Regions from separate parts of the Homo sapiens genome. Here region 2 is linked to region 1. The links are contacts of gene promoters, found by promoter capture Hi-C in blood cells and fetal thymus (Javierre and others, 2016). All regions are on one chromosome and are shown on one strand. Each heading gives the region's core, a stretch centred on a gene start or on the middle of the fragment in contact. The rest is flanking DNA. Distances are from core to core; before and after follow the strand shown. Region 1 holds the start of MAGEC3 (MAGE family member C3). Region 2 holds the start of MAGEC1 (MAGE family member C1).

Region 1 (5,708 bases), core at 2,205-4,704:
TATGGGAACAGGGGGCTTGGGGGACAGTGAGGAGATATCTGGGGCTGTGAGTAGTTGCAGTCAGGAAGTTTTTTTCTTAGTTGTTGGTTTGTTTCTTAGTTGCTCAGTTTGATTTTTTGGCTCCTATGCACTGGCATCAGCAGCACCGTGTTGGGGGCATGCTCTCATCTGTTGGTGAAGAATGGCCTTTTTGTGTTTCAGTTTACTCCCTCTCAAAGTGAGAAATTCATTTTCATAAAAAGTCCAGGGTTGTTGAGGTTTTTGTTTTGTTTGACCCTATGTATTTTTCTGTGCAGAAGGCTGTGGCTATGATTCTCAAGAGATTGCTTCTACTTCTCTCTGATATTCTGTCTGTTTAGAAGGAAGATAAACTACAGGTTGGCAGGTAGTTAGGGAGGCAATCACATCGGTTGTATGGCTTTGCATCTTGTCCAGCATTTAGTTTCTCAGGAATGCTTATTTGCAGTGGAGAAACAAGCTCCACACAGTGCAGCCTACACTTCCTCCAGATCTGCTCAAGTCTAATTTCCTTGCTTCTTCAAATTGGAATATCTGGACCAAGGTAGTGATAGGGGTTATATATTGATTTTTGAGTCTTCTTTCAATCTGGGCCAAATTATACTGGATCTGAATCATACCTCAAGAATTATATTGATTAAGACTCAGTTTTGTTTCAAGTTTCAGCATTGATGAATCCTTTCTGTTCATTTTGGTTAGTCACAGGGTGAGAGGTTTTATAAGCCAACACTATTTCCGCTTGCTTTCCCATAGCTTATTCAGTATATTGAAAAATTTTCAGGAAACAACAGCAAAATCCTACATAATATTCCTTGTTGAATATCAAATTTCTGTTTTTGACTTTCCATTGGAATAAGTCAGGAATGTCTACGTAAGACAATGCTTGAGGGTAAAAGATGAGTGAATGCGGAGATCTTTGTGAGATTGAGATGGCTGGCATCAGCTCTGAAGCCATGCGATCATTAATAGTAAGTTTCTGCTCTGCCATTTACAGATGCTGTAATCTGAATCGATCTTTCAATTTGTTCAAAATTCAGTTTTCTTTTAACTTTGTAAAATAAAAATAACTCTTGTTACTACATGTTGGGACATTTTTAACAGATTAAATGTGATAATATAAATCTGAAGTATTGAGCACTGTACCTGGCATAGAATGAGCTCATTATAATATCAGTCTCCTTATTCTTTCCCTTGTCTAACCATCAGTGGTGAGAAACAGCTGTTGATTTGCCAAAATATATGCATAATTTTATAAATGAAAACATCCAAAATCTCTTTGGGTGGCCTATTAAGGAATGAGCTACAGGGTTTTTCACCTTTATTACTATTGACATTTTGAGACAGATAGTTCTGTGGGCTTTTTTGAGGGGGTGTCATCTTGCTGAATTTAGAATGATTAGCAGCATTCCTAGTTTCTATTCAATAGATGCCGATAGCACCAAGAGCCATCCCAGTTGTGACAACCAAAAATATTTCCAGACTGCAAAATGTCTTCTTGGGATGGGGTGCAAAATCACCCCCAATCTGAGCACTACTGAGCTAGAGGAATGAAAAGGACATTGTGTTGGAAGAGGGTAGGGACTTAAGCTTTGAAATGTTGTTCATAGCTTGGAAGAGGCCCACCTTAGCCGTTTCTGCCATTGGGTGAACTAGGCTTTTTGTGCCTAGGTGTTAGTGAATGGATGTCAGAGCAGAAGGTAGGAGACAGGAGAAGAGTCTTCTCTATTTAGAGGGAATGGAAAAGATGCAGGGCAGTGTCAGAAGGTTTCAGATCTCTCATGAGCAAATGCAAAACTTCTGTGTTCTCAAGACCGGAAACACATTTCTCAGCCAAGGGAAGAGGCTAATTGAGAGGAGTGATCGTGGCTCTTCTTCATTTTCTTAGTAAGCTCCTGAAGGTGGCAAGACCGCAGAAAAGCAATGCATTTAATACCTCAGGGACTTGTTAGTGCCTGAAATTGAACATGGAGGCATTGGGATGATTTCATTGTGCCTCAGAAGTTATTAAACTGAGTCAGGCAAGTCTGCACTCTGGCTCCCCATGTGCAGGTGCAAGCAGTGGCCCCAGTGGGGATCCGAGGGCAGTTCCCTGGCTGGTGGGGTAATGTTCCAGGCAGGAACACAGCTGCCTCTGCTGCACAAAAAATCTGCCTGAAAAGTGGGAGGCAGCAGGTTGTAATAAGCCCCACTCAGCTCCCACACACTTGGCAAGTCAGTTTTCATACCCACAGTGTTCTGCTAGCAGCAGCAGCTAACTGGGTTTCAAGTGGCCCGTGCTCAGAATTTAAAACCATCCCAGGCCATAAGCTTTCCCTATGGACACAGAAACCATATCTTTCAGGCTGCATCCTTTCCAGTCCACCTGTGAAGCAGGGCCATGCAGCTCATGTGCCTTGTTGCCGTAGCACACTTCTCACTTGCCCCTCGGTTCTGGCCAATCAGCTTTGTCCTTACTAAGGATTATATCACAAATCCCAGTTGGGCTCTTCTCTCAAACTGTGACTGCAGCCTGAGTTAGACTTCTGCAACGTCCCGTGAGGTGGGATCAGGAATGGCTTCCCTCCATTCTTGCTGGAATCTGGGTCTGCACACAAAGCATGTCCCGATGCTGCTCCTTCTTATATATTCCTTACTTTTCACTGAATCACCTCTAGAGCTGAGTAGGTTTGAAGTCCTCCCTCATGACTTGTATTGCCTGGCTCGCCTGTGGGAGTATATGTCATGACAGCAATCTATCCCTCTCTCATGCTCTGGGGACTAATGGTTTTCCATCTGTTTTATGATGTAGTCTGTTGCCTGCCACTTCATTCAAAGGGTCTGTGGTTTCTTTCAGTTTTTCTGTTAAGTTCTTACATTGTTTCTTCGAATAAATTTTACAGCATGAATCTCTACATGCCATTTTGTCTTACCAAGTGGGATAAGTATGCTTATAATGCTTCCAATCTGCCATCTTGGAAAAAAAGAAAAAAAAAACTTTAAATATTTTGTCTGTAATGTGCTATGGAAGAGACCTTTTCACATTGTATCTGTTTAGGAATTGATGGGCCTCCTGTATCTCAATGTCTAAGTGTCTTGCTCGACTTAGGAAGTGTCATCTATTATTTCAATAAATAGGTCTTTGAAAACATGTTTTCTCTCTTTGCCTTCTGGGCTATCAGTGATTTTTATATTTGGTCACTTTATGTTGTTAGATAGATTCCAAAGGTTTATTTTATTATTTTCTTTTTTTCTTTATTTTTGTCTGACAGCGTTATTTCAAAAAAAACTGTCTTCAAGCAAAATGTGATCTTAACATAAGTCAGTTATGATTGAGTATATTGTTGAAGCTTTCATGTGTATTTTTTAGTTTATTCACTGCATTCTTTGGCTCCAGAATTTCTGTTCGTTCCTTTTTTATGGTCTCTATCTCTTTGGTAAAGACAGGGTGGCAGTGGCCATGCTGCTGCCCTGCCACTGGGTGTTGGATGCCACCTTCAGTGATGGCAGTCTAGGCCAGTGGGTGAAAAACACATGTGCCACATATGCCTTATCCCCAGTGGTGCTCCCACCTCAGCCCCAGGTGTGGTAGCCCATGAATGCTCATGTCTAAGCCCCAGGTTAACAGCCAGCTCTTCTTTTGCATCTCAGCCTCAGTGTTGCTTGGCTCCAAGACAGTGTGCAGTCTGTTGGGGGTGAGGCTCTAAGATGCTATCTTGCCCAGCCTTGATGTTCATGTCTTTCCCTTGGTTGCAGTAGCCTGTGGTCGCTCATGTCTGAATCTCCAGGGAAACATCAGACATTTAGTTTGCACCTAGGCCTCAATGCCACTGGGCTCCAGGACAGTATGTAGTTCATCGGGGGTGAGGCTCTGCAGTGGTGCCTCATTTGTGCCTCAGTCCTAAAAGCAGCAGCCCACGCCTTCGTCCCACCTCTGCACCAGATGCTGTAGTCTGTAGTCACTGATGCCTATGTCCCTGGGGCAGCAGTTCGTGCTTCTCTTGCACCTCAGCCCTGGGCTACTGGGCTCCAGGACAGTGCTCAGTCTGTTGAGGGCAGGGCTCTAAAATGGTACTTTGTTGTAGCTGCTTAAGTCTCAAGAAGTGTGAGGGACCCAGCGGGAGCTTTCTCCCTGAAGCAGTGCCATCATACAATCTCCTGGCAGCTTTCTATGTTAGTTTCGGGGCCCATGATGGTTGAAGGGATCTCCTGTGGCTGGGATTATAGGAGTCTATAGTGAGAATGTAAACTACTGAGGCTCTCTCACCTATCCTTTCTCTGTATTTGGAGTCTCTCAGCTCACAGCTGATCCTGGATGAGCAGGCTGCCTTGATTCCCTCTCCATCTCTGCTTTAAGTATTGCCTATCACTTTTCTAATGGATTCCAGTGATTTCCTTTGAATTATATATTCAAAGTGTGATTATCGACTCACCGTTTGGTTATTTTTAATGGAGAAAGTGAGTACAAAATGCCTCTAGTCTGCCATATTCATGGTTTCCAAGAAATAATTTTTAAAGGTTTTTAAATATTTTATGTAATTATAATGATTATGGGCATAAGAAGGATTATGGAGAAGAACGGAGCAAAATAAAAGCTTCATTCACTCTGCTGTCATATTTGATTATATCTTGAGGTCAAATTGATCTTTGCTATTGTCTTGGCTGCCGGCTCTGGCTACAGCTAATCCTGGGCAGGCTTTGCAGCTCCTACCACTTCCAGGCCCACAGCTGCAATCCCAAGCTTGCTCACCAAAACAAGTGTTTATTCATTATATCTTCAGTAGATTTTATTTTATAAATATGAATTGTTTATATGCATTTCTAATATGTCAAATGCTTTACTAGCTTTTTAATATCTTTATATCCATTTTCCCTGGATCATTACTTACTGTTCTTAACTCAGTGGTTCTTAACTGGAAGAGATTTTGCCACTTAGGGGATACTTGCCAATATCTAGAAATATTGTTGGTTGTCATAATTGGTGGCAGCAGGGAATGCTACTGGTATTTAATAAGCAGAGACAGAGATGCTTCTAAGCGTCTTATTGGACAAAGGACGACCTCACACAAGAAAGAATTATACTGCCTAAAATGTGATGGTGCTGACAGTGAGAAACCCTGAGTTTAACATAATTTGCTCAGAACTCTAAAAATGATTCACTTTCCAAAAATTTGCTGCATTTTTTCTTCTGGTCAGAATGTGCACAATGGAAATTCTTCCTGAAGGATTTGTGTGAGGAGACCTATTCTATAGCTGTTAAATGATTGGCAGGGAGGTTGATAGATGGAGGTGAAGTCAGCCAAAACTTAACTGATATTTAACAGCCAGGAAATACCCAACCTGGAAAGTATTCATTCATAGCATCACAAACCACTAAAGAAAAGTGATATTTTACCTCTGAGAAAGTTAACAGCAAAAGTATAGTCTTTCTAATTAGTTTTTAGCTTGCAATCTAAATAAATGACAAGTAGAGAATATCAGGTCATAAAATATCATTTAATTTTAAGAAATATTTTCATAAGAATATTGACATAAAAGTGATTTAAGAAAGTGAAAGTTACATTTAGCACAAGATTTTGCATTTTTCAAAAGTATATGATATTGGAAAAACATATAATTACATATTATTTTGAATTTGTTCTATGTAGCAAACTTTGTTCAGACCTCTTTAAGAACATTTCATAAATTTGGCATCATTACTAACATCTCCATGT
Region 2 (4,951 bases), core at 29-2,528, 66 kb after region 1:
GGGAAGGATAGGAAGACCCAGGACCAGCCAGTAGTCAGATGAGGCCTCTGAGGGAAAACTGCAGAAACCTCCTGCCCACAAAGAAGAGGATCCACAGAAACCAGCTCCCCACCTGTTGTCATCCCTGGGAGGCCCAGGGGCATGTTGACCCACAGTGCTGTCCCCTGACGTCTTAGCGTGTAGAAAGAGGAGAAGGCTGTGCTTAGGTGAGTCTCACTTCAGATCATGAGAGCGGAAGATCAGGAGGGGGGCCTTCTAGGCATCCCCAGGCTGATACAGAGGATGGACTGGTGAGCTACCCCACCACGGACACAGGAGGATCCCCAAAAACCTGCCCGTTTTCACTGCTAGGAGGCCTTGGGCAGGGCCATTAGGGAGAGACGCTAGCGTGCTCCAGTCCCTCTTGGGGGGTTCATGGAAATGGGAACCTTGATCTGAAAAACAGTCCCTGGAGAGAAGAGGGAGGGAGTGGAGGCCGTATCAGGAATAATAGGTTGAGGAAGACTGAGGGTCCCTCCCATGCCATTTCAGACGGAGGGCAGTGGAGCCCTACCTGGAGTCTGGGAGGCCATACCCCACTGTGGATGGATGTGATTCTACCTCTCTTGCACCTTGCAGGTCTCAAGGATGGGAGGGGCTTATTCGGAGGTGAAAGACTCAGATGCATAGAGGCAGGGAGCCCAGACAATGTCAGGAGTCCAGGAACAGCCTCTCAGGAAGGCAGGAAGGGAACACCCATGACTGGTAGTGCTGCCTGTCCTGTCCCTGTGCCTGCTGCCAGCCATGGAGGAGCCCATCAGGGTCCCCAGATTTACAAATTTCTGACTTCCATTTTGGGAGTCAGCCAGAGGGGAGATTTTCTCTGAGGAGGGCAGCTTCAGTTAAACAGAGGGAGTAGCCCCAGGGCTGGCCACTCAACAAGAAGAGAACTCTGTCGAAGGACAGTGACCTCCGAACACGGGGGAGGCACAGGCTGCACCCTGCCACTCCCTGCTGTCAGCCCTGGAAAAAGGTGGGGTGTGAGTGTCAAGGACTGGGGAGGTGGGAGGGAAGAGGTCAGCAGGGCTTAGGGAGTGAGCAGAAAGGTTTGGAGCACATCCTGGAGGTGGGAAGGAAGGGATGGAAAGGAGGCTGACAAGCGGGCGGCGGGGGGGGGGCGCCTTCCTCCTCTGAGAGGAGGCCCCGCCCCACGCTATCCGGGCTGTCAGCCCTGATCAACCCTGACAGAGTTCCCGGATGTGCTTTGCCGGATGTGCTTTCCCGGCGGCCATCTTGGGAGTCTGAAGGACCTGAGGCATTTTGTGACGAGGATCGTCTCAGGTCAGCGGAGGGAGGAGACTTATAGACCTATCCAGTCTTCAAGGTGAGGGCCCCGAGGGAGAAGTGAGGGACAACCCCACCACAGAGAGAAGCAGCCCTGGCCTGCCCTATCCCTGCGGTGGCACTTGTAGGTGGCGGAAACGAAGATGGTAGCCGAGGGCTGAGGGACGTGTCCTCACGGCAGAAGAAGGGAGGAAATGCCGGCCCTCTAGAGAATAAATAGGAAGGCATTGAGGAGGACCGGGGGAACCCCCACCTCAGAGGACAGATTCCCAGAGATTCCCACCCTGCTCCTCAAATCAGCCCCCATAGAGCTCCCCAGGTGGCTGAGGCTGAGCGGCCACCCTCTCACTGCTGGGTGAGGGGTGTAGGGGAGGGGGAGGAGGAGGCCTTGTTCTGGGGGTCCCATGGCAAGTCAGCATGGGGAGCTGCCTCCAGTTGGCAGAGGGAAGATTCCCAGGCCCTGCTGGGAACAAGAGTGAGGACTGAGGGGTCACATGTGCGTCAGAACAGACGTGAGGCCACAGGGACCGCCCCCGTGGTAGAGTGCTGGGAGGTGGCTGCCACCTCACTACCTCCCACTGCTCTCAGTGATGTGGAGTTTTCCTGAGGTTTTTCCTCAGGCCAGCAGAGTGGTGGGGGCCTGGCCCTGTCTGAGAAAATGTGACAATGCTAATTGAATTCTGAGGGGGTCACGAACCTCAGAATTGTGGGACTCTGGGAGTCTGGCCAGCCCCAGCTGCCGTCTTAGCTGGAGGGGCTCCCTCCCTTCCTCTTGCAGGTGCTCCAGAAAGCAGGAGTTGAAGACCTGGGTGTGAGGGACACATACATCCTAAAAGCACCACAGCAGAGGAGGCCCAGGCAGTGCCAGGAGTCAAGGTGAGTGCACGACCTGACTGTGTACCAAGGGCCCTACCCCCAGAAACAGGGCAGACCTGGCAGCACCCGGCCTGTAGCCACCCACTGTCATTCCTGGTGCCTCAGGCTCTGCCTGCCAGCTGTGCCCCGAGGTGCTTTCTCGCGTCCTTCTACAGGTTCCCAGAAGACAAACCCCCTAGGAAGACAGGCGACCTGTGAGGCCCTAGAGCACCACCTTAAGAGAAGAAGAGCTGTAAGCCGGCCTTTGTCAGAGCCATCATGGGTGAGTTTCTCAGCTGAGGCCACTGGCACTGTCCCTCTCTCCCTCAGTCCTGTGGGATCCCATCATACCTATTCGTGTTCACACGTTTACCTGCTGCTCCTGAACAATATTCATCATGCCTCTCTTTCTAAACCTTCCACGCCCCAGCTTTGAGCAAGGCTTCCAGAAGGCAATTTTCATACTGGAGTTGGTAGATGCAGAGGATCCCCCAGATGAGGAAGAGGAGGAAGCTTCCTCCATTTTCTCTTCCTCTTTCCACTTTTTATTCCCCTCGTCCTCCTCCTGTTTTTCTTTCTCATCCTCATCCTCCTCTCTGCTTCTGCGTTCTCCAGGGGACAAGGATATGCCTACTGCTGGGATGCCGAGTCTTCTCCAGAGTTCCTCTGAGAGTCCTCAGAGTTGTCCTGAGGGGGAGGACTCCCAGTCTCCTCTCCAGATTCCCCAGAGTTCTCCTGAGAGCGACGACACCCTGTATCCTCTCCAGAGTCCTCAGAGTCGTTCTGAGGGGGAGGACTCCTCGGATCCTCTCCAGAGACCTCCTGAGGGGAAGGACTCCCAGTCTCCTCTCCAGATTCCCCAGAGTTCTCCTGAGGGCGACGACACCCAGTCTCCTCTCCAGAATTCTCAGAGTTCTCCTGAGGGGAAGGACTCCCTGTCTCCTCTAGAGATTTCTCAGAGCCCTCCTGAGGGTGAGGATGTCCAGTCTCCTCTGCAGAATCCTGCGAGTTCCTTCTTCTCCTCTGCTTTATTGAGTATTTTCCAGAGTTCCCCTGAGAGTACTCAAAGTCCTTTTGAGGGTTTTCCCCAGTCTGTTCTCCAGATTCCTGTGAGCGCCGCCTCCTCCTCCACTTTAGTGAGTATTTTCCAGAGTTCCCCTGAGAGTACTCAAAGTCCTTTTGAGGGTTTTCCCCAGTCTCCACTCCAGATTCCTGTGAGCCGCTCCTTCTCCTCCACTTTATTGAGTATTTTCCAGAGTTCCCCTGAGAGAACTCAGAGTACTTTTGAGGGTTTTGCCCAGTCTCCTCTCCAGATTCCTGTGAGCCCCTCCTCCTCCTCCACTTTACTGAGTCTTTTCCAGAGTTTCTCTGAGAGAACTCAGAGTACTTTTGAGGGTTTTGCCCAGTCTTCTCTCCAGATTCCTGTGAGCCCCTCCTTCTCCTCCACTTTAGTGAGTCTTTTCCAGAGTTCCCCTGAGAGAACTCAGAGTACTTTTGAGGGTTTTCCCCAGTCTCCTCTCCAGATTCCTGTGAGCTCCTCCTCCTCCTCCACTTTATTGAGTCTTTTCCAGAGTTCCCCTGAGAGAACTCACAGTACTTTTGAGGGTTTTCCCCAGTCTCTTCTCCAGATTCCTATGACCTCCTCCTTCTCCTCTACTTTATTGAGTATTTTCCAGAGTTCTCCTGAGAGTGCTCAAAGTACTTTTGAGGGTTTTCCCCAGTCTCCTCTCCAGATTCCTGGGAGCCCCTCCTTCTCCTCCACTTTACTGAGTCTTTTCCAGAGTTCCCCTGAGAGAACTCACAGTACTTTTGAGGGTTTTCCCCAGTCTCCTCTCCAGATTCCTATGACCTCCTCCTTCTCCTCTACTTTATTGAGTATTTTACAGAGTTCTCCTGAGAGTGCTCAAAGTGCTTTTGAGGGTTTTCCCCAGTCTCCTCTCCAGATTCCTGTGAGCTCCTCTTTCTCCTACACTTTATTGAGTCTTTTCCAGAGTTCCCCTGAGAGAACTCACAGTACTTTTGAGGGTTTTCCCCAGTCTCCTCTCCAGATTCCTGTGAGCTCCTCCTCCTCCTCCTCCACTTTATTGAGTCTTTTCCAGAGTTCCCCTGAGTGTACTCAAAGTACTTTTGAGGGTTTTCCCCAGTCTCCTCTCCAGATTCCTCAGAGTCCTCCTGAAGGGGAGAATACCCATTCTCCTCTCCAGATTGTTCCAAGTCTTCCTGAGTGGGAGGACTCCCTGTCTCCTCACTACTTTCCTCAGAGCCCTCCTCAGGGGGAGGACTCCCTATCTCCTCACTACTTTCCTCAGAGCCCTCCTCAGGGGGAGGACTCCCTGTCTCCTCACTACTTTCCTCAGAGCCCTCAGGGGGAGGACTCCCTGTCTCCTCACTACTTTCCTCAGAGCCCTCCTCAGGGGGAGGACTCCATGTCTCCTCTCTACTTTCCTCAGAGTCCTCTTCAGGGGGAGGAATTCCAGTCTTCTCTCCAGAGCCCTGTGAGCATCTGCTCCTCCTCCACTCCATCCAGTCTTCCCCAGAGTTTCCCTGAGAGTTCTCAGAGTCCTCCTGAGGGGCCTGTCCAGTCTCCTCTCCATAGTCCTCAGAGCCCTCCTGAGGGGATGCACTCCCAATCTCCTCTCCAGAGTCCTGAGAGTGCTCCTGAGGGGGAGGATTCCCTGTCTCCTCTCCAAATTCCTCAGAGTCCTCTTGAGGGAGAGGACTCCCTGTCTTCTCTCCATTTTCCTCAGAGTCCTCCTGAGTGGGAGGACTCCCT

What was found. Contacts are between HindIII fragments. The CHiCAGO score rates a contact against its expected background, and 5 or more counts as called.
Region 2: the fragment with the promoter of MAGEC1 here is called in contact with the fragment with the promoter of MAGEC3 in region 1 in 11 of 17 cell types (neutrophils, total CD4 T cells, fetal thymus and 8 more); the score reaches 11.6 in neutrophils.

Annotation. Positions count from the first base shown.
Region 1 is chrX:141,834,862-141,840,569 of GRCh38, forward strand. It overlaps MAGEC3 (MAGE family member C3), which reads left to right and starts at 3,455. Exons shown (of 8, transcript NM_138702.1): 1 at 3,455-3,577. The coding sequence starts at 3,455. The HindIII fragment of the contact is 1,245 bases long and covers 3,343-4,587 here.
Region 2 is chrX:141,902,616-141,907,566 of GRCh38, forward strand. MAGEC1 (MAGE family member C1) reads left to right here and starts at 1,279. Exons shown (of 4, transcript NM_005462.5): 1 at 1,279-1,363; 2 at 2,102-2,199; 3 at 2,355-2,461; 4 at 2,794-4,951. The coding sequence starts at 2,458. RefSeq lists an enhancer at 1,395-2,594. The HindIII fragment of the contact is 6,965 bases long and covers 1-2,689 here.